7 separate regions of the Homo sapiens genome follow, and all the other regions are linked to region 1. The links are contacts of gene promoters, found by promoter capture Hi-C in blood cells and fetal thymus (Javierre and others, 2016). All regions are on one chromosome and are shown on one strand. The core of a region is centred on a gene start or on the middle of the fragment in contact, and the rest is flanking DNA. Distances in the headings are between cores, read along the strand shown. Region 1 holds the start of CSNK2A3 (casein kinase 2 alpha 3). Region 2 has its middle 15 kb from the start of MIR8070. Region 3 has its middle 91 kb from the start of LINC02752. Region 4 has its middle 11 kb from the start of MIR4299. Region 5 has its middle 71 kb from the start of LINC02752. Region 6 overlaps LOC105376553 (a long non-coding RNA gene). Region 7 overlaps GALNT18 (polypeptide N-acetylgalactosaminyltransferase 18).

Region 1 (3,811 bases), core at 641-3,140:
CAGGTTCCTTGGAAAGCCACAGACAGAAGCCCTGTGGCAACTCCACTTACGCAAGAGGGAGCCAGCTGGTGAGGCCAGGGCTGCAGCCAGACTCTTCCAACCCTTGTAAGGGGACACAAAATCTAGAAGGATCTGACCCTCACAGCTTCCCGATGCACAAGGCTGGGAAGGTAAGCTAGTTCAAGTCCAGGCATATCTATGGAACCAAAACCCTATAGAAGCCCCAAACTCAGAGACAGAAGTATTAGCAAGTTCCAAATCAGGGTCCCATTGACACCTGCGCTATCTACTGTAATCACTTCTTTGTTTTGAAATAGGATCTCTGGCCCCCATTACTGTCACTGGTGCTGCCAGAGAATGACAATGAGCTTAAATGTCATAGGGATTTGGGGAGCAATTTTCTTTTTTTTTTTTTTCAGCCTATTATAATTTTTTTTTATGACTGAACTACTATAAATCCACAAGCAACGGTTCAGACACGTTGCTTCTGAAGTGTTTCACCCCTCCCCGCCAGGCGCAAGCTGCATCAAGGAGGGGGTGGACTCCCCCACCTCTGCTCAGGCATCAGGAGACAGATAGGGCCGTTACTGCTGAGCGCCAGTGGCAGCTGGAACAGGCATCCCAAGGGGGTTGGCAGCAGCAATCACTGGTGAGCCTGCCAGAGGTCCAAGGGGTGAAGGAGTTGGCACTGAAGAAATCCCTGACATCACATTGGCGCTGCTGACGGGCGTACTGCCCCCTGGCATGCTAGATGAACCCATTCGAGCCTGGTCCTTCACAACAGTGTAGAAATAGGGGTGCTCCATGGCCTCTCTTGCAGTAAGCCGTGACTGGTGGTCATATCGCAGCAGTTTGTCCAGGAAATCCAAGGCCTCAGGGCTGACAAGGTGCTGATTTTCACTGTGGACAAAGCGTTCCCATCGCTTTCGAGAGTGTCTGCCCAAGATATCATTGAAACGTGGATCTAATTCAATGTTGTATTTGTCAATATAGCCATATAAATCTTCTGTCCCCAGAAACTTGGCTATCCTCACCAACTGATCATAATTGTCACGTCCATGGAAAAATGGCTCCTTCCGAAAGATCATACTTGCCAGCATACAACCCAATCTCCACATATCCAAACTATAATCGTACATCTGATAGTCTACAAGTAGCTCAGGACCTTTGAAGTATCGGGAAGCAACTCGGACATTATATTCTTGGCCAGGATGATAAAACTCAGCCAAACCCCAGTCTATTAGTCGTAGCTTTCTGTGCTCATGATCAATCATGACATTATGGGGCTTGACATCTCTGTGCATAATTCCCATGCTGTGACAATAATCCAGGGCCTTCAGAATCTCATACATGTAAAATCGAATATCATAGTCTGTTAACGTCTGGTACAATTGCTTGAAGTCTGTGTTGTTTACGTGTTCAAAAACCAAGGCGGGGGTTCGTGACACAGGGTCTTTTACAATGTCTGCCAGTGTGATGATGTTGGGACCTCCTCTCAAATTCTCCAAAATCTTTATTTCACGCTTAATTTTCTTCTTTTTTACTGGCTTGAGAATTTTAACAACAACTTTTTCATTATTTGTGATGTTGATGGCTTCAAATACTTCACTGTATTTACCTCGGCCTAATTTTCGAACCAGCTGGTAGTCATCTTGATTTCCCCATTCCACCACATGTGACTCGTAATCCCAGTATTCTCGAGGTCTGTGTGTATTAACATCTGTGTAAACTCTGGCCCTGCTTGGCACGGGTCCCGACATGTCAGACAGGTTGGCGGACAAAGCTGGACTTGATGTTTGGAGATCTGGCAGTCACTGTGTTCAGAAGCAGCTTGGGGGTAAGACCTTGTTTCAGACCTGTTTTCTTCACACTGTGGTGGAAGCGGCAGCGGCTGTGGCCGCTCTCCCTTCTGCTCACACAGACAATATGGCGGCGATGGAGTGGGGAGCAATTTTCTAAAATCCAAATAAAAACCTTCCCATCTCTAATCTGAGAGTCATTTTTATCAGCTAACTGGGCTCATCTATTTACTCAGCATATTCAGAGCCCTTTTTGGGGGTTAAGTCCCTTTCAATTGCTGTGAGGCACCGTCTCCTTGTGGACATGCTTGTGCTATCCAGCTGCTATTCAAAGCACATCTCCTGGACCATGTTTAATTTATACTTTCCTATATGAAGATGAACCACTTACTCACTTAAAGTATTTCTTTTTTTATGTCTCTAATCAGTGGCTGTTTCTTTCCTCTCTCTGAAGCTTAATCGAATCAGAAACAAATCCCACACATATGAATGGCTCATTAGCATGTCCCAGTCAGATTCAAATTGGCCGTCCATACCAGATGCCCCCAAAAGGATAACACTGGCCCAAAGAAGGACTCTTTAAACGAGTGTCCAAAGGGTGTTGCCATGATAAGCCAGGAGGGTTCTTTCTGAAATCCAGGGTAGATACACTCTGTCATTCCCAGCACCATAGAGCCAACTGATGGCAGGTAATGGATGTGTCATTGAGATGGGGTTGGTGGGAGGCAATGTGGCCAAGCCTGGGGAGCAGACATCAGAGGAATGTCTGGTGTCTATGTGTCTGGCTCAAGCATCATCCTCACACTTGGCTCAGTGGGGCCCTTTTATCAAATGATACAAATGAGGCTGAGATGCTGAACATTCTCTCGCTCAGAAATGATATTTGTTCTAAAGAGCTTCCCCTCTTAATCAAATGAAACTCAGATTATAAACACTGGTATGCTACATCTTCTCTTAAAGGATTTGCTCTTTTCATAGACATCAGAATGAATCGTCAGCATGGGCATCATCACTGGTGTCATCTCTGAAAGTCACCGATAGCAAACTCTCATTTAATACAGATTTACAAAAGAGATCAGCATACTGCAATAGAGTAGAACTGAAGGGAACCTAACCAGGACCTCCCTTCATTTCCCAGGTGAGCAAACTAAGGTTCAGGGTCACAGGATAATTTAGAAGCACAGTAAGATATGGATCCAAGAGCCTGCCTTTTGGAAGACAGGAAGTCATTATGGTTCAGAGCATAGCCTCTGGGGCCAAACAGTCTTGGTGTCAAGTCCTACATTTCCCATTTGCTGAACTGGTGACTTTAGGCAATTCACTTCACCTTCCAACACTCAGTTTCCTTGTCTATGAAATGGAGATAAAAGTGATAAATTCCAAAGATAGTTGCTGTGAGAATTAAATGAAGTAATACACAGAGACAGTTTATTTCATCACCTGGAAGAAGTTTAGAGGCCCCTAAGTATCAGCTATAATTATTATCACTATAATATTCCACTGATGATAAGATTCACTATTGCTATACCACAGCTTTTCGGGACAGGGGAAAACACACTACATTCCTCTGAGCTCAAGATTTATATACCCAAGTGCCTACGTCTCACCTTCACTCTCATGTGTCTCAGGCATCTCAACCTTACCATGTCCAAAACGAAGTTCCCGATTTTCTTCCCTGCCTCCCCATCTGTCCCTTAGTCTGCCCCTCATCCATCTAATAGCCGAAGCCTGTAACCTGTAATTCATCTGTAGCAATGTCTTCTTCCTCCCTCTCCACATCCAATACATCGGCAAAAGCAGACAGTTCTACCTCCTAAATATAGCTTGAATTTAATCACTTCTCTCCATCTGCACAGCCAACATCCTGGTCCAAGTCCCTATTATTTTTGTGTGGGCATCTCCATCCAGAGCCTCTTCCCTGGTCTTTCTGCGTTGTCGTGTTGCCCTTCAATCCGTATTGCCCTCCAATCCACTTTTTAAAATTATACATCAGAGCATGTCCCTCCTCTGCT
Region 2 (3,811 bases), core at 929-3,428, 420 kb after region 1:
AGCCAGTATGGAAAAAAGTAAGATCCCTAAAAAACTAAAAATAGAACTACCAAGTGATTCAGCAATCCCACTTCTGGGTATATACCCAAAGGAAGAGAAATCAGTATGTTGAAGAGATAACTGTATATCCACTTTCACTGTGGTATTATTCACAATAGCTAAAACATGGAATCAACCTACATGTCCACAAATGGATGAATGGATCAAGAAAATGTGGTATGTATACACAATGGAACACTACTCAGCCTTAAAAAAGAAGGAAATTCTGTCATTTATGGCAATATGGATTAACCTAGAGGACATGATGTTAAGTAAAATAAGCCAGGCACAGAAATACAAATACCACATGATCTCACTTATATGTGAAATCTAAAAAAGTCAAATTCAGAGAAGCAGAGAGTAGGATGATAATTACCACTGACTGGAGGGTGGGGGTTTGGGGAGATGCTGGTCAAAAAGTACAAGTTTCAGTTAAATAGGAGGAATAAGTTTTAGAGATCTGTTGTACAGCATGGTGACTATAGTTAATTATTGTTACTTGAAAATTGCTAGGAGAGTAGATTTTAAATATTCTCATTACAGGCTGGGCGCGGTGGCTCACGCCTGTAATCCCAGCACTTTGGGAGGCCGGGATGGGCGGATCACGAGATCAGGAGATTGAGACCATCCTGGCTAACACGGTGAAACCCCGTCTCTACTAAAAAAAAATACAAAAAAATTAGCTGGGCGTAGTGGCGGGCGCCTGTAGTCCCAGCTACTTGGGAGGCTGAGGCAGGAGAATGGCATGAACCTGGGAGGCGAAGCTTGCAGTGAGCCGAGATCGCGCCACCGCACTCCAGCCTGGGCAACAGAGCGAGACTCCGTCTCAAAAAAAAAAAAAAAAGAAAAAAATTCTCATTACACAAATGATAAGGATGTCAGGTGATGGATATGGTAATTAGCTTGATTTAGTCATTTCATAATAGATACCTATATCGAAATAGCATGTTGTATACCACAAACATACATACTTTTTATTTGTCAATTTTAAAAAGTTGTTTACGTAGATGGAATCAAACAGTCAAAAACAAAAACACAAGAATACATAGAGAACAGTCAAGGTCCTGCCTCTGGATGGGCTGGTCCCTAAGGATACTAAATGAAGATGGCAGTGCTGGAGGGAGTCTTGAGCTTTTCAGTTGCTGAAAAGCTACCGGCTGGTCTGCAGTGAAAGAAGTTCCTATGGAAAAGACCAGAAGAGTCACTGCAGCTGAATGAGCCACCATTTGGCTTCACTGTGAGATTTCCTGGCTCTAGACCTTCCCGAGACAGATCTACACTTTCTTGGGGGCTCACTGTGTATAAACTTTCCTGAGGAGAAAGACTCTAATTGGTTTCCAGACTCATATGTATTCTTTTGGTTGGAACCTAAATTCTTACATTACAAGGAATGTTTCTACTACCAAAAGCATTTATTAATACATGAGAGAGACTGAACAAGGTAACAATAGAATTCCAAATAGCAATCAAGTTTCTCTGAAAAATATGACTATTTTATGTCCAAGAAGTTCTGTTAGCTCCTTGGCATTGATGTGATTTGGAAAATATCACTAATTTTTCTGAAGTGACAGATTTCCTTAGCCAAATGAATGGATTCCTTTTATCCAGGTCCTTAGAATCCTATCTCAGCAGCTTCCAGTCCACCCCTCTGGCCTGAAAATTGTATTGTTCATTACAGACAGTCTTGGACTATCAGTTGCAGAGAAAATACTCCATACAGAAGCCCCTTACTGCTGCTTACAGACCTTAAATATGAAACTGGTATCCAGAGTGAAAATGAAATCAGAGGACTTCTACCAGTAAAGCACCTTAGCAATGCCTGCGGAGTCCTCTGGGACTGAAAGTTACTGTTTGCAAGCTATGTTGATGATATACTTTTGGTTTAAAATAACCTTGAGTCCACAGAGCCCAGTGTTTGCTGCCATTTTTTAAGCTTGATGGTGAAAGGATCTGTTCAAATTAGCATGCCTTCCTTCAGAGGTGTCCAGGACACTTTGTGTCTATGTCAACCAGTGGCATCTCTTACACATCATTAGCTTGGTCAATCCCTGTAGAGAAACTGAGGGATCTCAGTACAAAGAACAAGAACTGGATATATTAACTCCTTATTTTGTGTTACCATGTGGTAGCCTTTCCTAATACGTACTCCCCATCACTTTCAGCCATTCCCAGTGCTGATGGAATAAATGTTTTTGAAGAGTAGAATCAGTTTTATGGAGTGCATGTTTTAATGAATACAGTAATGTGTTTACCTCCCAATTTATCTTCTACATTTTGGCCATAAAATTTAACTGTATCTGAAGGATAATTTAATAGTTCTGTAAAGAAAGGCAGCTTATAGCATGAAAAGCTTATAGCTTTTCCAAGTAAGAGGAAAAATTTAAGCTGGAGGTGGTTTTAAAAATCTTTCTAATATCCCTTACAAGAAATACCATCCTATCCATGCCCAGGGTCTTTGAGATTTGTAGATGGGAAATACTCCTAGTATTGGATGATTCCATTTCCACAAGGACTGGAACGTGTCAGAAGCACAATGAATGCCCTTTTTTTTTCTTAACTTTCTTTCCAACTTTATCATTATCATTGTCATCACTGTTAGGTTACGCACTGGTTTTGCCTAAAGCAACAAACCATCAAAAATTCACAGCCTTCAAGGCCGTCCCTAAGTTATCGGCACACATAGAATAAATCTTATATTAACATTATTGCATATTTCTATCAGACTATGACTATCCAGTGATCTGACCAACTCCCTCCACCTTTGTAAGCAGAAAAGCTCCATCGATTTCCCCCAGACAAATGGAAATATTACTTGGAGAATTTCAACCCCAGTGTTGCTTCTGCCTGAACTAACAAGAAGATTTCATCCTACATTGCATTCAGTCTTGCCTCCAGCTGTGAGAAATTCTGCCACGCTGGAATACGGACTTAGATGTGATACACAGTGGGCCATGAGTGATGTGCACCAGCCAGCAGAGGGACATTTTTCTAGGCAATGCTGTGGACTCCTAGAAGTAGGAACTGAGGCATACTTGGCTCTCTGTCCCCTAGCACATAACAGAAGATCCATGAATGCTTATTGAATTTCAACTAGCTCAGCTGAAGAGGCTGGTTCCAGCAAAGACAACTGGATGGCTCAAGACACAAAGTCTGACAGGTACAGTTTGTTCTGCACTGATTTAGGCAAGGCAAGGCTACTGGTAGGGTGCAGTGGGTGGGAGACAGAAGACAGGTGATGATGGAGTACTGAAAAGGGAAGAGCTCAGGTATTTGGAGAGATGTATATACATACAGGCAGGTGATGCCAATTCAAGTGATGCATTCATTCTTAGCAGGACCTCAACCAGTAACTTGAGAGGACTGAGTTCAGGTAGTAGATTTCAGCACTTCCCCACCACCATCCCAGCATGGAAGAAAGAAACTGACCTGAGTGTAAGTCCCAACCACAGAGATAGAGTTCAAGTTAGAACCCATTCATAGAGAGAGAAAGTATAATGCAAGACATAATCAGCAGGCCACCACAGGGCAGAGATGGTAGCAAATGCCCAGTTTGGCAAAGTCTCATCCTGAGTCAGGAAGTCCCAGGACTGTGGGGCACTCAAATAGTCAGAGTTCATTCTTGTCATTAGAACATCAAGTCTGGGAGTGTGACTTCACTCCAGGCTGTCCAGGTTATGGGCACCAGGCTGCTGTTGTAAGCTATGTCCTGATCAGGAATGGCTGGAGGCTTTATGAGGTCCCAAATCTGCAGATAAGAGGAGCTGAGTGAGGC
Region 3 (3,811 bases), core at 381-2,880, 330 kb before region 1:
GGAGGTGATGGCAAATACGGAAAAACCAACAGTCCTGGGGAACCTTGTTGGAGCACATTTAATCCAGTTGTTGTTGTTGTTACTGAAGTAGAGGAGACAGGCAGATAAGTCTTCCCGATGGAAGTGACACCAAAGCTGAGATCTGAAGGATAGTAAGAGTGTGTTATACTAAAGAGGATGTCTCCTGTGTTCATTCTCCTCTTGGGGTGGATGTAGCTGAGAGAATAAGAGAGCTTTAGAGTCCCAATTGAGGTTACTTTTTATGTGCTGTTAGTGCATTGGTGGCCCCTCCAGCCCTCACCTTGGTAGTTATGACAAATCAGAGAGTGTCCAGCAGATAGTGATCAGGGTGGTGGGAGGACACTTAAAGAAATTGGGAAAAGCTGTGAAACGAAGTGCTTGGTAAGTGGACAGATTCTATTGCATAAGATTAATGCTGCCTATTAATATTAGAAGGTATTAATAGCTGCCATTATGTTAGGTTTTTCATTTAATAGAATGTGTTATACCCACATCAGCAGGGCCGTGTCAGTGTGGGCTGTTGGCCAAGATGTGGGAATGGCATCATTATGTGTACCCAGACACGTAATGGTATTCTGCGTTGGGAATCTACTTCTATGATCTGATATAGGTTGTTAATTAATAAATGTATTACAGAAAAAGATGCCCAGCAGCAAACTGGTTACACTGGAGAATGGTTGGCCCAAATCCAAAGGATGAATGTCCTTTGAACATCATTTCATCCTCTGCTCCCTTTGTAGGCACCTGGAATTAATGCTGAGAAGAACTGATGTTTGCCTTAGCAAGGCATATACAGTGGCTTCAGCAGGCCTGGGCAGGGCCTGCAATTTTCAGACCGAGTGCTGCTGAGTTCAGCACACCATCTCTTAACTTTAAACTGTGTGTCCCTTATCCTTTGCAGCACCCTTGCACTATTGTTTCCCTTATGATATAAAAGTATTTGTGTGTATCCATGTCTTTAGTAACAATGAAAACCCATGAAAGGTAGCCCAAAAGGGGTTGTATGTTTCAAGAAAAATGGCAGAAAGCACAGTTCTTTGTGGGATTAAAAAGTATGTGTATGTATTTAATATAAACCAAGTGTGTCTGCATATAAAAGCTTGTCTACCTCCTTCGTTCATATAGCTCTCTTGGATTTTGTGGGTATTTGCTTCAGGACAGGCAGGAACTGTTCTAGGCAGTGGCCCAGAGCGAGCATTACTAACCTTGACTGTCATTCTGTCCCAGGTGGCATCCCCTCCTCAGATCCCAGCGCTGTCCATATACATGCTGGTCACATTTAAAGGGCCATGGATGGGGCTTAAGGGCAAAGCTCTAATATGTCAACAATTTCTTCTAACGGGATCTTGCTTCTCTTCTTTTGTATAGCTCAAGTCAGAAGTAATGTGATGTTTTATTGGGATGGCCTTGGTGTTTTGTTGTCTACACTTAATTATATCTAAAATAATTTGTTTTCTCTGTGGCCAGCAATGGATCTGTGAATTCACCAGTCTGGGTCCTGCCTCTCAGCCTTTGCCACTTCACAACTGGGGCCGGTGGATTTTCAGCTGCAGGCTTGGTCCTCCAGGCCTGTTTTTAATGGTTATGGTGGGAGGAGATCAAGATAACCCAGGGTTGAGCATTGGACTGTCCTGCTGCCTGGGTACAACTAAGTCTTACCTAGATCTGATGCTGGGTTTCTGCTTTTCCCTTCTGACAAAATGCTAGCCCTTGAGGACTTGCCTTGAGAACCTTCTAGGACTTTATGTTCTACTCCTGTTTAACACTACTGATCATTTCAGCATTCTTCAGGAGCATGGATTTTGAACAAGGAGGCCAGAACAAAGTAAAGAAGTTAGTCTAACCATTAGAATACATTAGACACACCCATTGACCAATGGGGGGCAAGTGCCACTGTATTAGAGAAATTGATGATGTAATATTCAGAGAATAATAAATAGTGCTTCCAGCTTGAATGATGCATAGTCTCTTTTTAGAAGAAAACAATGCTGACAAATAATTTTATTATCATAATTAATTTAAATATACACAGATGCTAAACTAAGTATAATCTTAAAAACATAACCCATGTATAAATTTAAGTATAAGCAATACTGTGTAAACATTAACATTTAACATAAAAGCTTAGACAAGCTTTTATGAATTTATAAAATACAAACAAATCCACAAAATCAATAGAATTAAGATTAATCTTTAATAGGATCAATGATGTTGGTTTGCTAAAACAAAATCATTTCTTGCCATGTGGATATGGTCCTGGGGCTATGGCACAGGTTTGTGTGAGTTGGCCACGACTCTGCTGAATGTGCTGCATGCCGCATGATGACTCAGTGTGTCTTCCATCTTCCTCTATCCTAAATATCATGACACTTTTGTTTCTACAGGATGCTGTGAGGTCATTTGTTCCTCACTTGTCAATGATCACATTGTTTGTGTTGAAGTCCATCACACTCATTTTTCACTAGTCTGAGAGAATTAAAGCAGTTCTATTTGACCCTTATGCTGTCATAAACACAAATCTACATGTGGACATAGAAATTCTGTGGTTTGAGTTGGTCATTCAGTTGACCCACAAGATATGAATATTGATTATTTTTATATTTTCATCAATATGAAAACAAATTAAAAAAACAATATCAGAATCTCATGAACTCAGAGAAAATGTCCAGTGGGCTTAGTTTGAGAAATACTGGCATGAAAAGCCCAATGGCATGACTAGCTCCCTGATATGGGGCAGGAATTGAGGGAAAGATCAGGGGCTTAAATTGCCAGAGGGTGACAAAATCAGTTTCTACCTGCTGTAATCTATATCCCAGCAAAGTTGGTCTGTTCTCAGATTTACTGGCAAACTGAGGCAACTTAATTGCTCATTCGCGTTCTGCTCTTCAACTATTATTCTGTATCTGGTATGGTGCTGCCATGCCTCTCTGATAGTGACCACTTGCCGTCCTGCCCAGTGGTAGGCTTAGGAATTAGGGGTCTAATCTGGCTGCTCATTGTCCAGAAGCACAGACTGGAAACTCTAGTCTGAAAAATGTTTATGCTATTCTAATATTTGAGTGTGTATCTGTATCATCAGGAGAATTTTAGATAATAGCCATTAGGAGGTCCCAAGAGAATGGCCTATATTTCTAGTTGTAAAGGGTCTTTTGGAGTAAAGAAGGAACACTGACCAAGGAAACGTTCAGACAACTACAAGGAATCCATGAGCTTGGTTGCCTTTTACAGGAGGGGCAGATAAAAAGGATATGGGCTGTAACTGGCTTTGATAACGCCCCAACCCAATGAAGAATTTTGAGTTGTTAAAACATGTTGTTTCTAGACTCCAAACACTGACCCACTTGGGAGAAAATGAGGCAGCATGGTACCAGATCTGTGGGATCTGTTCCCAAAATCCTATTGACAGGCTTGGTCCACTTGCAGGTCACCCTCCATGGTCTTTGGTCAACTTTTCTGTGGTCATCATAGCTTGATGGGACTTTCTCTGGCAGTTGTCCCATTCAAACCAGTTGTCCACAGCCTTGCCTGCTTCAAGAGTCCAAGGACCAAACCTCAAGGAGTACCTCAGATTGTTCCCCAAGTGCTGCCACTGACCTCATTTGGACTGACGATGCACTTAACAATTTGACTTTCCACTCTTATTTTTCCTGAAACTCAATACTCCCAATTGAGTTCTACTAGCTGTATTTGTGAAAAGTAATCACAAACATTTTTTTAGAATACAGTGAAATGTGAAGGAATGATTTATTGTGTACATGCATATGGCAGAATATGTGTAAGTGGTTATAGA
Region 4 (3,811 bases), core at 751-3,250, 310 kb after region 1:
AAGAAAAATAATGCCTGTGGCTTGAGGGATGGGGAGGCAGTGATGGAAGCTCCCAGAATGCTGTCCTCACTGGGTAGACTTTTGCTCTAAGTGCTCCTTCAGTATGAAGGTGACACAGGAGGCAGGACTCTACTCTGGAGGCAGGGCTCGGACATGGGACCAAACTGAGGAATAGCTAAAACAGGATCAGGCTGAAAGCAGTTTTCCATAAGACACACCCACCAGTGTGCCATGTCAGATTACTATTGTCATGGCAACATCCATAAGTTACTGCCCCTTTCCACAGCAATGACCCAGTGACCTGGAAGTTACCACCCTCATCCTAGAAATTTCCACAAAACTACCCCTTGGTCTTCATATATTAAAAGTGGGTATAAATATGACTGCAAAACTGCCTCTGAGCTGCTATTCTTGGCACACTGCCTATGGAGTAGCACCACTCCACAAGGAGCAGTACCTCTGCTGCCATACACTGCTGCTTCAACAAAAGTTGCTGTCTAACACCACCCGCTGGCCCTTGAATTCTTTCCTGGGTGAAGCCAACAACCCTCCCAGGCTAAGTCCCAATTTTGGGGCTTGCCTGTCTTGCATCAAACAGATTTAGTATGCACTGCCAGAGATTGGGTGGTAATGAATTCCTTCTCCTAGCAGGTGGGCTACTGTTACACTGGCATTTTAGGCATTTCCATTAAAATGTTGCATCCACTAACAAATACTTCCCAAAATGTATCACTTGCAACCACGTGAGCTCAGGGGACAGAGCTGAGAAACCTGGAGCCTTACAGATGCCTGACTTAGTACAGCCACCAACTATCAGCCCAGAGCCAGACCCAAACTTCTCAGAGCGGCCAGCAGAAATTCAAGAGCAAAAGAACACACAAAAAAATTCTGAGATCTTTTTGAAGAAATGATTCTTCAGAATATAGGACAACCAAAAGCTGGATAAAGAAGGAAGGTAGTAAAGGAAGTTCCATTGTTGGGACAAAGAGGACGTCTCTGATGCACAAATAATGCTGCTGATATTTGTGTCCTAAACCAATGGAGAGCTACATTTTTATTTTTTGCACAGACTAACACGGGGGGTTTGGAGGGTTATTAAATATTTATGAATTTATTTTTTCACATTCAAAATGAAAATAGCTCTCTTGAATCCTATGGGAAAGAATATATATCTTCTCATTGTTGTGCAGAAATGTGTTAGTGTGAGAACTGTGCTTTCGACCATTCAAAAAATATAATATCTGGGCATATTTGAAAGGGAACAACAGAAACAGCCTTCATATTTGTTATGCCTTAGAATTGTTTAGGGCTGTAGAGTTCACATGGTGCATTCACTGCTCTTTCTCCGCATGGGTACCTACGGAGCCTAGGGAAAGCACAAGATTAAAGACGGAATTTTGCAGAGATGTGGAGGTGGGACTCCTTTTAAAATGCAAGGATCCTTGAGAAGGAACAAATGAACAAGTTCAGCAAGCTCTTCTCATATCCCGTAGGTGAAGCTTCCGGTCTTTAATGCCTTGAGCATGGAGGGATGGAGATGGGAAGTTTGAGGGAATGTTAGGAAAACACTGCCTACCTAAAACAATGGGTTTGAATTTTGAGTTACTCCCTTATACTTATCCCACCCCTAGGCATTGTAAATAAGGGGTCCAAGAACTTTTAAATGATGGTAGCCTTTAATCTGCAGATGTATACTGGTGATGCTCATGTATTCATTTTTTCATGTGTGTGGTTGTTGAAGTAAATTATCACAAACTCGGTAGCCCAAAAGAACAGAAATTTATGCTCTCGCAGTTCTGGAGGTTGCAAGTTCATAGTCAGCATCACTGGGCCAGAATCAGGGTGTTAGCAGAGCTCCCTCCAGAGGTCTAGGAGAAAATCTACTCCTTAGCTTCTCCTACTACTTCCTTGGCTGCTAGCATTCCTTGGCTGATGGCCACATCACTCCAATCTTGGGTTAACATCCCCAAATCTCTCTCTGCTCCGTCTTCCCATCTCCTTCACTTCTCCACCTTTGACACCAGAGGATGTCACATCTCCCTCTGCCTTCCTCTTGTAAGAATACATGTGATTGCATTTCAGACCCACCCAGATAATCTAGGATAATCCTCCATCCCCAAATCCTTAACTTAATCACACCTGCAAAGACATCCCCCTCCCCCGATTTTTGCCATATAACATTCTTAGGTCCTGGGGATTAGATATCTTTTGGGGGAGCTATTTTCAGCCAACCACACCCCAGTTGGTTGTGGTAGAAAACATTACTTTAAAAAAGGAGTTAAGATCCCTTTTCTACTCATGTTATGGAAGGGAGGAAGGAGAGACAGAAACTGGGGAATAGGCATGTGCTGGCAGTACAGTCAGAGGCCAGACTCTGTAAATAAGAGAACAGGAGAGCTGGATCCAGGGAGAAGATGGAGAATCAGACCTTCTAAGAGAGTTCCCATTCAGGAACCAGTATGTAAGAGGTAGATGGGAGGAGTTTGGATTCTTGGGGCTAGAGAAGCTTGGAGAGGAGGGTCAGTGGCCTCTATGCAATCAGGGAACAGGCCTGGGACACAGATAGAGAATGGATCCATTGCCATGACAGCTTGGGCTTAGATTAAAGATATATAAGAAAGAATTATATTCAACCCTTCTGAGCATTTGACACAGGTCGTCCTCACGCTTGAATCACTCCCTTCTGGCTCTCCCACTTCTCTGATTGTCCCCTCTAAGTCTCTGCCTTTAGCTCCAACTGTCCACAGCAGTAACCTGCTCCTAAGGTACCCACTGTGGGCTCTTTTTCCATCCTTGATTCACTTCCTGCACAATAAATAGGGTGAGACAGTAGGTGTTAAAAGCACTGGCACTGAAGTCCCACTGCCTGGATTTCAATTCTGGCTGTACCCACTCCTGTAGGTGTGGTCTCAGACAAGTTACTTATGGGCTGTACCACTGAGCTTTAGAATCTTCTCGTGTAAAATGAGGACAATAGGGTTGTCTGAGGAGCTAACAAGATAAAGCATGCAGTTAGCTGGCAGCTCGTGGATGGTGCCCACTGCTATTCTTGTTGGTTTTGCGTGCTGGCTTGCTTGTTTCAGCTCTCCAGCTTATCTCCCTTGTACATCTGAGCCCACAGAGGGTGCTGGCTGGCTATAGTGTGGAGATGGGCAGAACTGGAAACAAGAGGAAGGGGAGAAAAGCTGGGTGCCCAGGCTGTCATGAGATGGAAAATAAAAACATCTTTCTTCTTTTCACCTGTGGGCAGAAGAGCAAGGAGAAATGCTGGGACTGTGCCTGGTGTTGGTCAGGGGCAATAAATAGCTACTTGGGCAGCCCCCAGGCTGACTTTGCTCCAATCCTGCAGCCAGCAAGCGGCCTCTATAACTGTCTGACCCCTCAGCTTCCAAGTTCTCTGGGACCATGGGGAAGATGGAGGGGCTTCAACCAAGGCTGCACAGAGTGGAAAAACTGGACGCGTGGAGAAAAGCAGGAGCAAGAATTATTTAGTGGGAGAAGAGGCAGCTGAGGAGCAATTTAATAACAGCTTTTGAGGCTCCGAAGAGTTATTAGATAGAAATTGGTGACCAGCTGGTCCCTCTCTGCTCAGAGCACGGGGCCAAAGGAAATGAGTTTACATTCTGTAGGAGGAGATGCTCAGGTTAGATAAAAAGGAAAAATTCTTCCTGTCAAGGTGGAAATGGGCTGTTACAGGAACTGCAGCAAACACCTTGGGTGCATTCAGGCTGTTGCCAGGAAGACGGGTCTTCTGAGCCCCTAGGGATGCCTCTGTCCAGGCCAGGGCTCCTGGTAGTAGGTTCCCAGTTCC
Region 5 (3,811 bases), core at 504-3,003, 310 kb before region 1:
CCATGGTTTGGGTTTTTCTACAAAGCAGAGTCTGAGACAATGGATGCGTGCGGGTAATTAATTTGGGGACGTGACCCCAGGAGACAGTCATGAGAGACTGTGGAAGAGGGAAACAAAAGGAAGGAATGCCAAGCTAAGAAGGTGTTGTTGAGCTGATGACAATGGGCAACTGGGGCTCAGGCCCACAGAGGACCTTCTGAGGAACCATGCAGAATGTGCCTGAGGATCGCCTGTCCAGGACAGGAAGATGAGAGTATTGATCCTCTGCCCCTGTGTGTTCTTGTTCCCTGTTGATCAAGGATTGCCCTGGGGGTGTTAACGCCCTTGGACTTCCAAGTGTGCTCATAAGCCAAAGAGGTTGTCAGCAGTGGCTGAGACATCTCAGAGAAACCTGCAGGAGATATATACAGTGCAGCTTGGGCAAGGAAGGGGCTGTGTCAGGCTGCAAGTGTGCACAGCTATAGTACACCTACAGCTATAGTAGTGGCTGGATGGAGCCAAGGGGTGGCCTATGAATGGAAGACGGGCATAAAGAGTCCAACTCTCCTTTCATTGTGGGTTTTTTTGAAAACTATAGGCAAATAGGTATACATATCCCCTCTTGCTTAGATAAATGGTAAAATAATACTGTATACACTGTATTCCAGCTTGCTTTCCTCACTTACCCTGTTGTAGCAAACACTCCACAGTATTACTTAGAGATCTTTGTTGCTTTCCACAGGTGCCTCATGCCCCTTCACACGGACCCACCATCATATAATGAACCAGTCCCCTTTGGATGAGGGTGTTTGGGTGATTTCCAGTTTTTGCTTTTATAAATACTGCTGCAATGAATAAATGTTCCTTTACTTTTTTATCCTTTTGTGTTTTACAAGTGTTCCTTTGACTCCTAGATGTGGGATTCTAGCTTAAAAGATGAATAAGTACGTAGTTTTTCTAGATATTGCCAAATTCTCCTCCATAGGAGCTGTACCTTTTGCATTCCCATCAGCAATGTAAAGAATGCCTGTTCCCCCTGAGTTTCACCAATAGAATTTGTTGTCTAACTTGGATTTTAGCTGATTGGCTGATGAGAAATCAAGTCTCGATATAGTTTTAATCTTCATTTTTCTATCATGAGCAAGGTTGCACATTTTTTTCATACTTCTATATTTCTGCAGCTGAGATGAGCCCCCTATATTTTGGCTTTCACTTTGAGCCTCAGTCATATCTGGGCTTTTGCCTTGCAGGGCATGCTGTGACTTCTTTGGCCAGTGGGGTGACGAGGAGCATTTGAGGATACCTCTTAAGCCTGTGATCTTAGCTTTGCCTCTCTGAGGCCTACAAGCTGGAGATCAGCTTCAGTCCACCTGGGAACCAGTGAAAAACAGTAATAATCAAAACAGGCTTTACACCTGTATAGCAGTTTGCAAAAAATCTCAGATGAATTGTGTCATTTGGTCTTCTCAATAACCCCATGAAGCGTGTGCTTTCAACCTGTTTACAAATGGGGAAACTGAGGCTCAGAGAAGTCAAGTGACTCACCCAAGGGCACACAGCTGGAGAGTGGTAGAGCTGGGCCTCTTCTCGGGTCGGTTTGATCCCAAAGCCCTGGCTCTTCCCACTGCACCATAGAGAATCTGAACTTGACAGATGCTTTACCATTCAGGCTGCCAAGTGGAAACTGCAAGATGGATAATGAGGAAGTCATTTTTCAGGGGATCAGTGTGGATGAAAGATTAATTGATGAAATGCTGCCAAAAGGAGGATTCAGAGTCTGGATTATGTTCCAGGAACTCAGGGCACCAGGAGGAGGGAGAACATTCTAGAAGAGAAAGATAACAGGAGAGGAAAGAAGGAGGATGGAGATCAAAGCCGGACACTTGACATCCCAAACAGCTGGTCTCAGGCACTGCTTTTGGGTGGCAGCGCTCACGGGATACCCCTGCTTAGAGGCTGGCCACCTACTGGTCCCTCTGCCCCAGTTATCTTGGGGACCTGGGGTTTCTCTGTCTCCTGCCCTCCCATGCCACACCCAAGGCAGTGGCCTCCGTGGGGAGGCCTGCCTGGTACACACTGCTCAGATCCATCTGCTCATCTCCATGCTGCCAGCCCTGCCTCCCTGGGCTGGCTCCACTCCCTGCCTTCCTCTTGGACATGTTTTCTAGGGAGGTCATGTCTTGCTGCTCTCAGAGGCAGGCAGAGCAATGCTGAATTCTGACCCCATCACTTTTTGTGCTGCCTTAGAGAGGTCGTTCTCAGAACCTCCCTTCCCTCAACTGTAAAATGAGGATGGTATGCCTGCCAAGAAGAGTTGCGGTCAGGGTGAAGTAAGGTCTGGAAACCTCCTAGCCCAGTGCCAGGCCTTGGGAAACTGCTCCGTAAGAGGCGGCCATTTTCATCTTGGTGATGCCACCTTGGCCTCTCAGAAGCATGCCTCCTTCCCTGTACTGTGCTCCTCTCCAGCCTTCTCTCAGATAATGCTGGCTGTGATACTGGATTCCTGGGTGTTGTTTCATCCTTCCCCTTCCTGGGGAATTATTGCTTCTAACCTAGCTGCCCTGGGCTGAGAGGAGGGGCTGGGTCAGCGGGAGGCAGGAAGGGCAGCTTCGTACACAAGCCCTCCCTGGGTCTTGCTAACTTCCTGCCCACTCTCCTGTCCCCAACACCTTCCCACTCTGCTCCAGCCTGGGGGAGGTGGATGCAGCTCACTCTGTGTAACCAGTCCCTGGCAGAACCCTGTTCCAAGGGAGGACTCCCCAGGTCATCTCAGCTGGTGCTCCTGGGCTCTTTCAGGAATCTCTGCCTGCAGACCTCACCTGCTACCTCCCCTCAGCCCTTGGTAGAGCCATGATGGACAAGCCTCTTCACTGGCTTGGCCAGGAGAGCCTTAGGCCCTGGAACTAGGTGGGAGGGGCTGCCGGGGTACAGCCTCAGAGCTCAAAGATTTAACTCTCTTTCCTGAGGGGCCAGTTATAGTCCCTAAAATGCTTTAAGAGGAGGATCCTACCTGCCTCTTCTTCTCTAGCACAGCTAGAGTGATAACTTGGTAGGAGGACTGTGGAGGTACAGCAGGACCAGGCCTGTGGGCAGGAGAGGTGCCAGGACTGATCAGACTGGAGCTTGGCAGGGTTACTGGACCAGTTCCTGTGGTGGCTGCCAGGTACCCCAATGAAATAAGCCTGGTGCAGGCTGGCATCATCTGGTGCAGGGGCCTATGGGGAGGGGCAGCAGGCATCTCAGGAAAGCAGGGAGCCCGGAGAGGATCAGAATGGCCCTTTAATGAGCCCCTCTTGTGTGTTGGCATTGCATCTGTGTCAAGTGGGTGGTAACAGCAGAGCACAGGAGGCATATCCTGGAACCCAGAGAAAATGATGGCAAGAGCTAGGCCAGGAGCCATGCTGCAGCCTCGGAGACCGAGGCTCAGGGCACAGCCAGTTCCGGCAGATAATTGACATGCTAGGCAGGAAACAGAGGCAGAAGCCCAGTCATATGACCTAGATTAACATGATAGAGCTCAGGGGAGCCAACGAGTCTGTGAGAACACAGTGGTCCCGAGTTCTCTTGGGTCCCACCTGCTAATGGGGCTGAGACTCCCAGCCTTCTTCCCATCCTGCTCAGGGAAATCTCAAGGACTGGCCAGAGCTGACTGTGTAGCTGTTTTGCTTGAGAGCTGAGAGCCAGGAGGGGCTGGAGAAAACAGGATCTTTGGCTTTCTCCCTGGCTATAATTCACCATTTCTACTTCCCACCCAAATACTATGCTTTCTGTAGCTGGGATCTAGGTTTGAGTTTTCCTTCTTCTTACACTGCCAGCCTCTTGGCATCCATGG
Region 6 (3,811 bases), core at 759-3,258, 290 kb after region 1:
TTGCCTTGAATGAAAACAGTTGATGCCCTCCTTACTTGTGATCTCAACATGAACATTTCCCCCAGGTCCCTGCAAAGTTGGTGATTGCTGCTTGGTTTCTTCACTCCATTAGGAGCACCACGCTTCATCATCAGTTGCTGTTCTCTTCAGAAACTCTTTATGTTGCCCAGCATCCTTTGGGTAATCAGAACAAATATAATGTCTTTACTGCATCTATTTGTCACTTGGAATGCATGGGGAGCCTTCACGGAAAATTTCCTCAGGTTCACATTTCCCTTCAGAACCAGTCTATTCTTCATCTACATTTAACTCTTGAGTCACCACTCTCTCTCTCTCTCTCTCTCTCTCTGTCTCTCTCTCTCTCTCTCTCTCCCTCTCTCTCACACACACACACACACACACACACACACCACATTCAGAGCAAAAATGGGAGGAGCCTTGGACTGAGAGCAAAGAAAACCTACATTCTGGCCTAGGTTTTGATATTATCTTACCTTAAGTAAGTAAATTGACCTCAGTTTTCTTCATTTATGAAATAAGGGAGCTAATTTAGTAGTTTCCAAATCAGTTTTCATGGAGCCTAAGAGTTCCTTGCAGGTACCTAGGGATAACACTGGGCATGAGTGAAAGCTCACACACACACACACACACACACACACACACACACACACACACAATGCTAGTCAACAGTGGTGTTCACTAAATATTTTCAGTAGGAAATAGCTTCTGGGCATATGGTAGGATTGCGCTTCTTGGCCTCTTTGTGGTTATGTAGGGCCATGTGACTGATGTTGACCAGGGCAACCTGGGTAGAAGTACTCTGTGTCACTTTTTTTAAACTGGAGCATTTAATTGCCAATGCAACATTTGTCAGAGTTGTACTTTTCTTTCATCATGGTAACCATCAGTGATCAAAATGGGAGCTGCTCCATCAGCTTGGGACCCGAAGCAGGGAACTGTAGAGTTGACCGAGTCCGTCCATGATAGACATACAGCATGAACTGGAAAAGTCTTTGTTGTTATAACAGCTGATAAAATGTTTGGATTGTTTGTTACTGCACATAACCTAGCCTATCCTAATTAACATGTTCTCTCTGTCTCTCTCTCATTCTCCCCAACCACAGCAACTCTGTATTTGTTTTACATGTTAGCTTTCTGCATAAGATTTTGTTTGATAGAAGAGTCCAAGAGCTTAAAAGAATTTGAAACTCTCCATCAATGTGATTTTTGAGGCCCCTTCCAGTCAGAAATCTATGGTTCTATACAGATCCTTCCAGCACTCCAGCTATCTTCCCTATCATCTTTACGTATTTTGACTTTATTTCCTCTCCATAAGCTTCTGTTAATTTGATAATTATCTCTCACAGAGATTTACCTTCACGTACAATTTTATGTCAATTTTTGGATCTCAAAATGATGACCCACTTTTTCTTCACCACATGTACTTTCACTTATCACAACCATCAGAACAGACTTACCTGCCAAAGTTGACGGCTCCACTCTGACAAGGTGGAGACTTTTTGTGAGCTGTCCCCATACTGTCTTTGTTTCCCTGAGATGCAAATGAAAATATGTGCCTTTACTTTAGAATTATAGCTAGTCTGAGTGTTTTAGTCAACTAGTATCCCCCACTGGGCCTACTCAGAAGTCTATGTAAGAAAGATTTCTAATAAACTTACTGATTTTTTAATATAGTGAATACACATAATATCAATGTTTCTTTAATAGTCTGGTGGCTTCTGAAATCTCCCTTTTTCAAGAACCACCTAGACCAGAGGGGTTGCTATGGATAGCTTAAATAAGATACCAACTGAAACCTGGGAGATAAATTAAATCAATAGTTATCAAATTTTCTGGTATCTAATAATCAATCTAATAATCTCCCCCTACAGCCCCCACCAAGTTTCTAATTCATTTGATCTGAGGTGATGGCCTGGAATCTATATTTTTAATAAGGGACTCTGATGGAGATGGTCACAGAACCACAATTTGAGAAATGTTTAGGCTTGATCTTTCAGCTGTTCTTAACCATAGGAGTCTGTGGTTAATTTCAAATTCCAGTGTATACAAGAGATTCAAAACATTCAGCTAAAAGTACCGCAGGAAAACCACTGGTCATTTCTAAATATTTCTTCCTTGGTAGTGGAACCAAGGCATGGGAATGAAGGAGCTGAGATTTCACCCAGTAAGTAAGGGATCTACTGGAGATGAGGGGGAGGTCTCTTATCTAATGGTACCAGTGATGCCAAATCAGAGCCCAGAGCTGGTAAGTTGCTATGGTGGGAGAACCAAGATGAGGAAGACAGCCAAAGCAGGTTCTGAAAGTGAAGCATAAAGACAGGAAGACGAGGAGGTGAACATAAGAGTGGCAGATGCAGGCAGTTTCTGGAGGAGAGCACTCAGTGAGTCCTAGAGACAGGCACAATGGCTTAGATGTAGAAAACTAAGGCAAGCCAATAGGAACAAGCCCACTCAAGTAATTCACTCCCTGGGGTAAAGAAAAGGAGTTTCTGGGGACCAGATCTCATGAAAATTGGCCTGGGTTTTAACCCAAAGTGACCAGGAGTGGGAGGAGCTGAAAGATAAGTATAATCCATCACTCAGGGAAGAACCAAGAGTTAAGCCAAATAAATCTGGTGGATAAGTTAAAGTATTAACTTGATGGAGCTAGGAATAGGAGACAAGCTTTTAGAAGCTAAAAATTTGGGGAGCTGGTAGAAACCAGATTGGGGTAGAGAGTACAACACCAGAGCGGGAGTGAAGAGAGAGGTCAAAGGCAATTGCCCTATTGCTGCTATGAGGCTGGCCTCTCGTTTTGGTCCCACGTGGTGTGGAGTGGGTTGGCCTGGTTTGAAGACAAATAAGCCAGGCAGTGACCTGTCCCCACTGGATCACAAAAAGCATGGGGCCCTTGTACCCAAGGCCTCTTTTCACAGCCAGAACTTGGCTGAGGTCTATTCATCCAGCTTGGCAATGCAACAGGCTGAGCTATCAGCTGCCAAGCTCAGTATTGAGGAGTCGGAGTAGATGGTCGGGATTACTTGGGGCATGCAATTTGCCAGGCTCATGTTTGGCAAACAAACACAGCCTAATAGAGAGACAAAAGGTTTGAGAACAAAGAAGGTCTGCATTCTCTCCTTCCTCATCTTCTTTTTCCTTCCCTTATAGGATGCCTTTGCTGAAACAATGGGCCATGGCCCAGTAATTCCACTGAGGCTGTGTTCATTGTTTCTCATCACAAATTTGGGCACATCCTTCCCCAATTAAAAATTCTTTGTGCTAAAGGAGAAAATAATTTAGGGCTCATTACAGTTTTGTTTCCAAAGCAGTTAATAGAATATGGTAGATAATGGAGGGAGAAGGCAGAACTGGGCTGGAAAACTGGAAAATTGACTCCAGTCCCAGTTCTGACATTCCCAGTTCAGCCATGTGATTTTAGGCAAATCACTTCATCTCTTTAGGCTTTTGTTTCCTTGTTTGTGAAAGGAAGGCTATTGAGTCATAGTTTCTAAATGTCCTTCCAACTCAGACATTCTCTGACGTCCATGATTTGAAAAGCCTGGATTGCACTTCCTTCCTACCTAACAGGAAAGCTTAGAAAGATGGAGCTGCCTCACCTTGCACAAATAGGTGCTTAATTGTTGGATGAATGAATGGAAGGATCAGAGAATAAGTGACACCCAATGACACACATTCTGGGACATCTTCATGAAAGGGTTGCCAAACCAAGATGAGAAAGACACCAAACAGGTAATGAACATGAAGCATAAAGTAAGTCAGGGAAATGGGGAGGTGGACACATGAGTGGTAG
Region 7 (3,811 bases), core at 551-3,050, 260 kb after region 1:
ACCATCAGAAAGGCTATTTTTACCCCGTTGCTAGGAGTTATCATGGAACAGAGAATTCACCACTGTGAGAAGCCTCAGATGACCAACCATCCAGGCTTGCCCAGGGAATTGGGTGCTTCCCTGGACCTGGGACTTTCAGTTTTAAAACAGGGAAAGTGTAAGGCACATCAGGATAAGCTGGTCACCCTGAAAGACACGTGACTATGCCAGGGCACAGGAAAGCACTCAGCCCGGTGCCTGGGACATTTTGGGTGCTCAGAAGTCACAATGAATCTGAAAGAGCTCTAGTCTGCAGCTGGAACACTCCGCTTTTTTGACAAGGACCAGTTCCTGGAGGCCCCACAGTGACCTAGGAGAAAAGGCTGTCCACAGCTTTGTGGTGGCTGCTCCCTCACCCTTCCAGACCAGGGCCTTCTACTGCTGCCCACCCTACCCTCCAGGTTCCTTGTAGACACAAATGTAAACCAAGCCCCTGCCTGGCCTCCCATTTGACCTGAGGCCTCTGAGCTTACACTCAAACACCATGTTTGATAAGATGATCTCCCATTCCTCTCTACGAGAAACATTCATCCTCCTTCCTATTCTGTAGAGAGCATTGGTTTTGTAGCCAGTTTCCCTTCTTGGCTCTACCACCCATCAGCCCTGTGACCTACCTTGAACAAACTCTAAGTCTTCATTTTCTTACCTCTAAAAAGGTAAGAAAAAAGGTAATCTTACCATGTTGTGAAGATGAAAAGGAATCACTAATTTTAAAAATTACAATTTTATTTGTTCATTGAAATAAATAAATAAGTAATCATGCCTGGGCAGCACCTGGGCCAGTCCCTGACCTGCTAGCATACTGTAGCTCTCTTCCTCCATTCCCTTGATACAATCAATCTTTAATTCTCTATATGCCTGTTGCTCTTAAAATAAATCAAGGGTTTAGCTAGGATTCTCATTTGTCGCTTCAAATCTCTCCTTAGCTTTCTAACTCTCATATCCATTGGCCTAAGCAATTTTGGTACTGTTCTCCTAAATCCCCAGATGCCGCTAGCACAACATTTATTAAGCCAAGCTTCGAATCCTGTCTTGCCAGAGTCCCTGAATTACCTTCCTGCTCCTCTGGGATCTCAATGGCCTTTAACTCCAAGTTCCCAGGGGACAGAGATGGATGCACAAGTCAGACTGGCGAAGCCCAACAAAGCACCAGAGCTTGTTAAGATGCAGCACTCAACAATCTTAATCAGGGAACTCTGCTCTGAGACTTAAACTCAGTGCATTTGTAGAATGAACCTATTCACGCTAAAGAACTGGCCACAAGCCTCCTTGTAGGCATCATTTTTCATTGTTCTCACCTGTCCCAAGGTGAAGAGTGCAGATGCCACTTCTCTGGATCTTCCCAAACACTGTATTTCTGTGAGCTCTTAAAGGATGGTGGCAATGGAAAGTAGCCCAGCAAAGTATGCCTGTTGGTTCTAAAACCATTTTAGCAGTGGCTCCATAAGGGAAGCCACTGAATGTTTATGGTGGCTGGACACTCAGGGGTTTCCACTAGCATCATTAAGGACAGCTTCATCTCCCAAAAATAAACCTTCCAAAAACTGAAATTGAATGTCAGGCAGTGAAAGAGAACTACATCTCAGTACTGCATCCCCACTGGGACGAACTGTCTAGCAACATATTTTAATCCATAATCGTGTAGTCAGAAAAACCACCAAAGCTTAAGTGTTCATATAACAAGGAATCCTCTTGCTTAAAGTTCCAGTTGGCTGCACTGGAACTACAGGGGATCTATAAAAGGTATACAGATCCACAGAGAAGATTCCAGAACAGCAGTCATTCCCAATCACTGCCACAACATACTGTGCTGTGGAGCAGTTGTGAGGTAATTAGTGAGTAACAATAATTTAAGTACCAAAGCTTATGAATGATTAGCTTTAACTCTAATAAATTAAAGGGATTTCAAGGTTGTTACATTCCCTTGCATACTAATATGCCTTCTCAAGTAGGAAAATAAAGGGTGGAGTAAGAATGAATGCAATGTGTTAGGAGGTGCATCCTCCTAGCCCTGCCCTAGGGCACATGCCTTGTATGTAGGCCTATGTGTGAGGAAGGGGGAAACATCAAGGACCCCTGGGCTCAAGCATTGCATTACAGATGGAGCTGACTCTAACCCCAAAGGCAAGTGAGATTCAATAACAATTGTAGGAGCCATGAAATGACCACATCCCTGCCAAATCCAAGGCAGAAGCTCCACCCTTCAAGAGACATTCCAGGCCAGCATAAACAGCATGGTCCACCATTCATTGATGGTGGCTTAGCCACCAGTGGACCTCAGTCACTCTGCCTCTTGCTCCTGACTTGAGTGTCATCCAACTTGTATGGCTTCTGCCCTTCCGCTTCATGCATAATTCCATCTCTCCCCAAAGCCCACCATGCTGCCTTCTGGTTACATTTATCACTCACATTCAGCCGGGTTTTCCCTCCAGGAACTTTCTGTGTAACATCACCTCCAGCTGTACTGCTTGGCAATGTGCTTCTCCACAGGGCAGCCTGTCTGTCCCCATCTCCCAGATAGAACCCAGCTAACAAAAAGCCAAGCTTGGCTTTCTGCCACAAACCAAAGGAGACCCTCAAGACCCAAATCAAGACAATAGCTTTGTATTAGTCCATTTTGCATTGCTATAAAGGAGTACCTGAGGCTTGGTAATTTATAAAATTATAAATTTATAATTTGGCTCATAGTTCTGCAAGCTGTTCGAAGTCCAGCATCTGCTAGGCTCCTGGGGAGACTCCAGGAAGCTTACAATCACAGCAGAAGGTAACAGGGAAGCAGGTATGTCACATAGTGAGAGAGGGGTGAGAGAGAGAGGCAAGAGAGTGAGGAGAAGAAGAAGAAGAGGAGGAGGAGGAGGAGGAGGAGGAGGAGGAGGGAGGAGGAGCAGCAAGGCTCTTTAAACAACCAGCTCTTGAATGAACAAATACAGCAAGAACTCATTCATTACCAGGAAGACAGCACCAAGCCATTCATACAAACACCTCCCACTAGGCCCCACCTCAAACACTGGGGACCACATTTCAACATGAGATTTGGAGGGTACAAACATTCAAGCATATCAAGCACATTCAGCTATTCAAGTGAAGTGAGGTCAGAAATCCTATACGATGGTAATGAAGACGCTCCAGTAACCCTGTTTGTGACTCTGAATCCCATAAATACCTTTGGGAAAACATAGGCCAGCCTAACCCAAGTGACTAAAGCTGAACTTCAAGGCCCTCATAAATGACAAAACCAGACGTGGCTCTCTGACACTTTTCATTCTGAATTCTCCTTGAGATTCTCCACCAACCTACTTATCAAGGGAAAATAACAATTTATGTCAAGTGAGTGGGAAAGAATGTGGAATTCATTTATTTTACAGCCTACACACTTCTGGCTAAAAATGAAGATTCTTTGGTCACGGGGAAAAGTTGTGTCCTTTGGCAAGGCTTTTCTTCTTCATAAAGCTGTGGTTCTGAACTAGTAACAAAGGTAATTAGGCTCAACTCCTAAGTCCTGCTATTGAACTCTCTCAAAATGTCAATCACTGTTACTAATATAATTTCACATGCAACAGTTCATTCCAGAGGACAAATAGCTTTACTATTTAAATGACACTCTTTCCTCAAATAAACTCCATGCACTCAGCAAACATCATATCCTCTTCTTCACAAACGCTGCCAAGTCAAAGCTCAGATGAGAAGAACACGAGCCAATTCTAAGTAACATCCATAAGCTATAGGAGACAGAAAAACATCCAAGCTCAGGACATCTGCTGATTCTTAGCAA

Evidence for each region. The method cuts DNA at HindIII sites, captures the fragments that hold promoters and counts their contacts. A CHiCAGO score of 5 or more calls a contact.
Region 2: a contact is called between a fragment that was not itself captured here and the fragment with the promoter of CSNK2A3 in region 1, in 1 of 17 cell types (endothelial precursors). The highest score is 6.3, in endothelial precursors.
Region 3: a fragment that was not itself captured here is called in contact with the fragment with the promoter of CSNK2A3 in region 1 in 1 of 17 cell types (M2 macrophages); the score reaches 6.9 in M2 macrophages.
Region 4: a contact is called between a fragment that was not itself captured here and the fragment with the promoter of CSNK2A3 in region 1, in 1 of 17 cell types (endothelial precursors). The highest score is 7.4, in endothelial precursors.
Region 5: a fragment that was not itself captured here is called in contact with the fragment with the promoter of CSNK2A3 in region 1 in 1 of 17 cell types (M2 macrophages); the score reaches 6.4 in M2 macrophages.
Region 6: a contact is called between a fragment that was not itself captured here and the fragment with the promoter of CSNK2A3 in region 1, in 1 of 17 cell types (endothelial precursors). The highest score is 6.4, in endothelial precursors.
Region 7: a fragment that was not itself captured here is called in contact with the fragment with the promoter of CSNK2A3 in region 1 in 1 of 17 cell types (endothelial precursors); the score reaches 6.5 in endothelial precursors.

The regions. Positions count from the first base shown.
Region 1 is chr11:11,351,360-11,355,170 of GRCh38, forward strand. CSNK2A3 (casein kinase 2 alpha 3) reads right to left here and starts at 1,891. Exons shown (of 1, transcript NM_001256686.2): 1 at 583-1,891. The coding sequence starts at 1,760. The coding sequence ends at 585. All of the region lies in intron 6 of GALNT18 (polypeptide N-acetylgalactosaminyltransferase 18), which reads right to left. The HindIII fragment of the contact is 3,495 bases long and covers 1-2,251 here.
Region 2 is chr11:11,766,382-11,770,192 of GRCh38, forward strand. No RefSeq gene overlaps it. Among named protein-coding and RNA genes, the nearest start is that of MIR8070, 15 kb to the right of the region's middle. The HindIII fragment of the contact is 417 bases long and covers 1,971-2,387 here.
Region 3 is chr11:11,022,923-11,026,733 of GRCh38, forward strand. No RefSeq gene overlaps it. Among named protein-coding and RNA genes, the nearest start is that of LINC02752, 91 kb to the right of the region's middle. The HindIII fragment of the contact is 1,024 bases long and covers 1,119-2,142 here.
Region 4 is chr11:11,665,395-11,669,205 of GRCh38, forward strand. No RefSeq gene overlaps it. Among named protein-coding and RNA genes, the nearest start is that of MIR4299, 11 kb to the left of the region's middle. The HindIII fragment of the contact is 1,007 bases long and covers 1,498-2,504 here.
Region 5 is chr11:11,042,247-11,046,057 of GRCh38, forward strand. No RefSeq gene overlaps it. Among named protein-coding and RNA genes, the nearest start is that of LINC02752, 71 kb to the right of the region's middle. The HindIII fragment of the contact is 5,094 bases long and covers 1-3,811 here.
Region 6 is chr11:11,638,276-11,642,086 of GRCh38, forward strand. LOC105376553 (a long non-coding RNA gene) reads right to left here. Exons shown (of 4, transcript XR_931034.3): 3 at 1,479-1,552. Among named protein-coding and RNA genes, the nearest start is that of MIR4299, 17 kb to the right of the region's middle. The HindIII fragment of the contact is 1,349 bases long and covers 1,335-2,683 here.
Region 7 is chr11:11,611,482-11,615,292 of GRCh38, forward strand. The region is part of intron 1 of GALNT18 (polypeptide N-acetylgalactosaminyltransferase 18); the gene reads right to left. Among named protein-coding and RNA genes, the nearest start is that of GALNT18, 8.6 kb to the right of the region's middle. RefSeq lists an enhancer at 2,103-2,272. The HindIII fragment of the contact is 200 bases long and covers 1,701-1,900 here.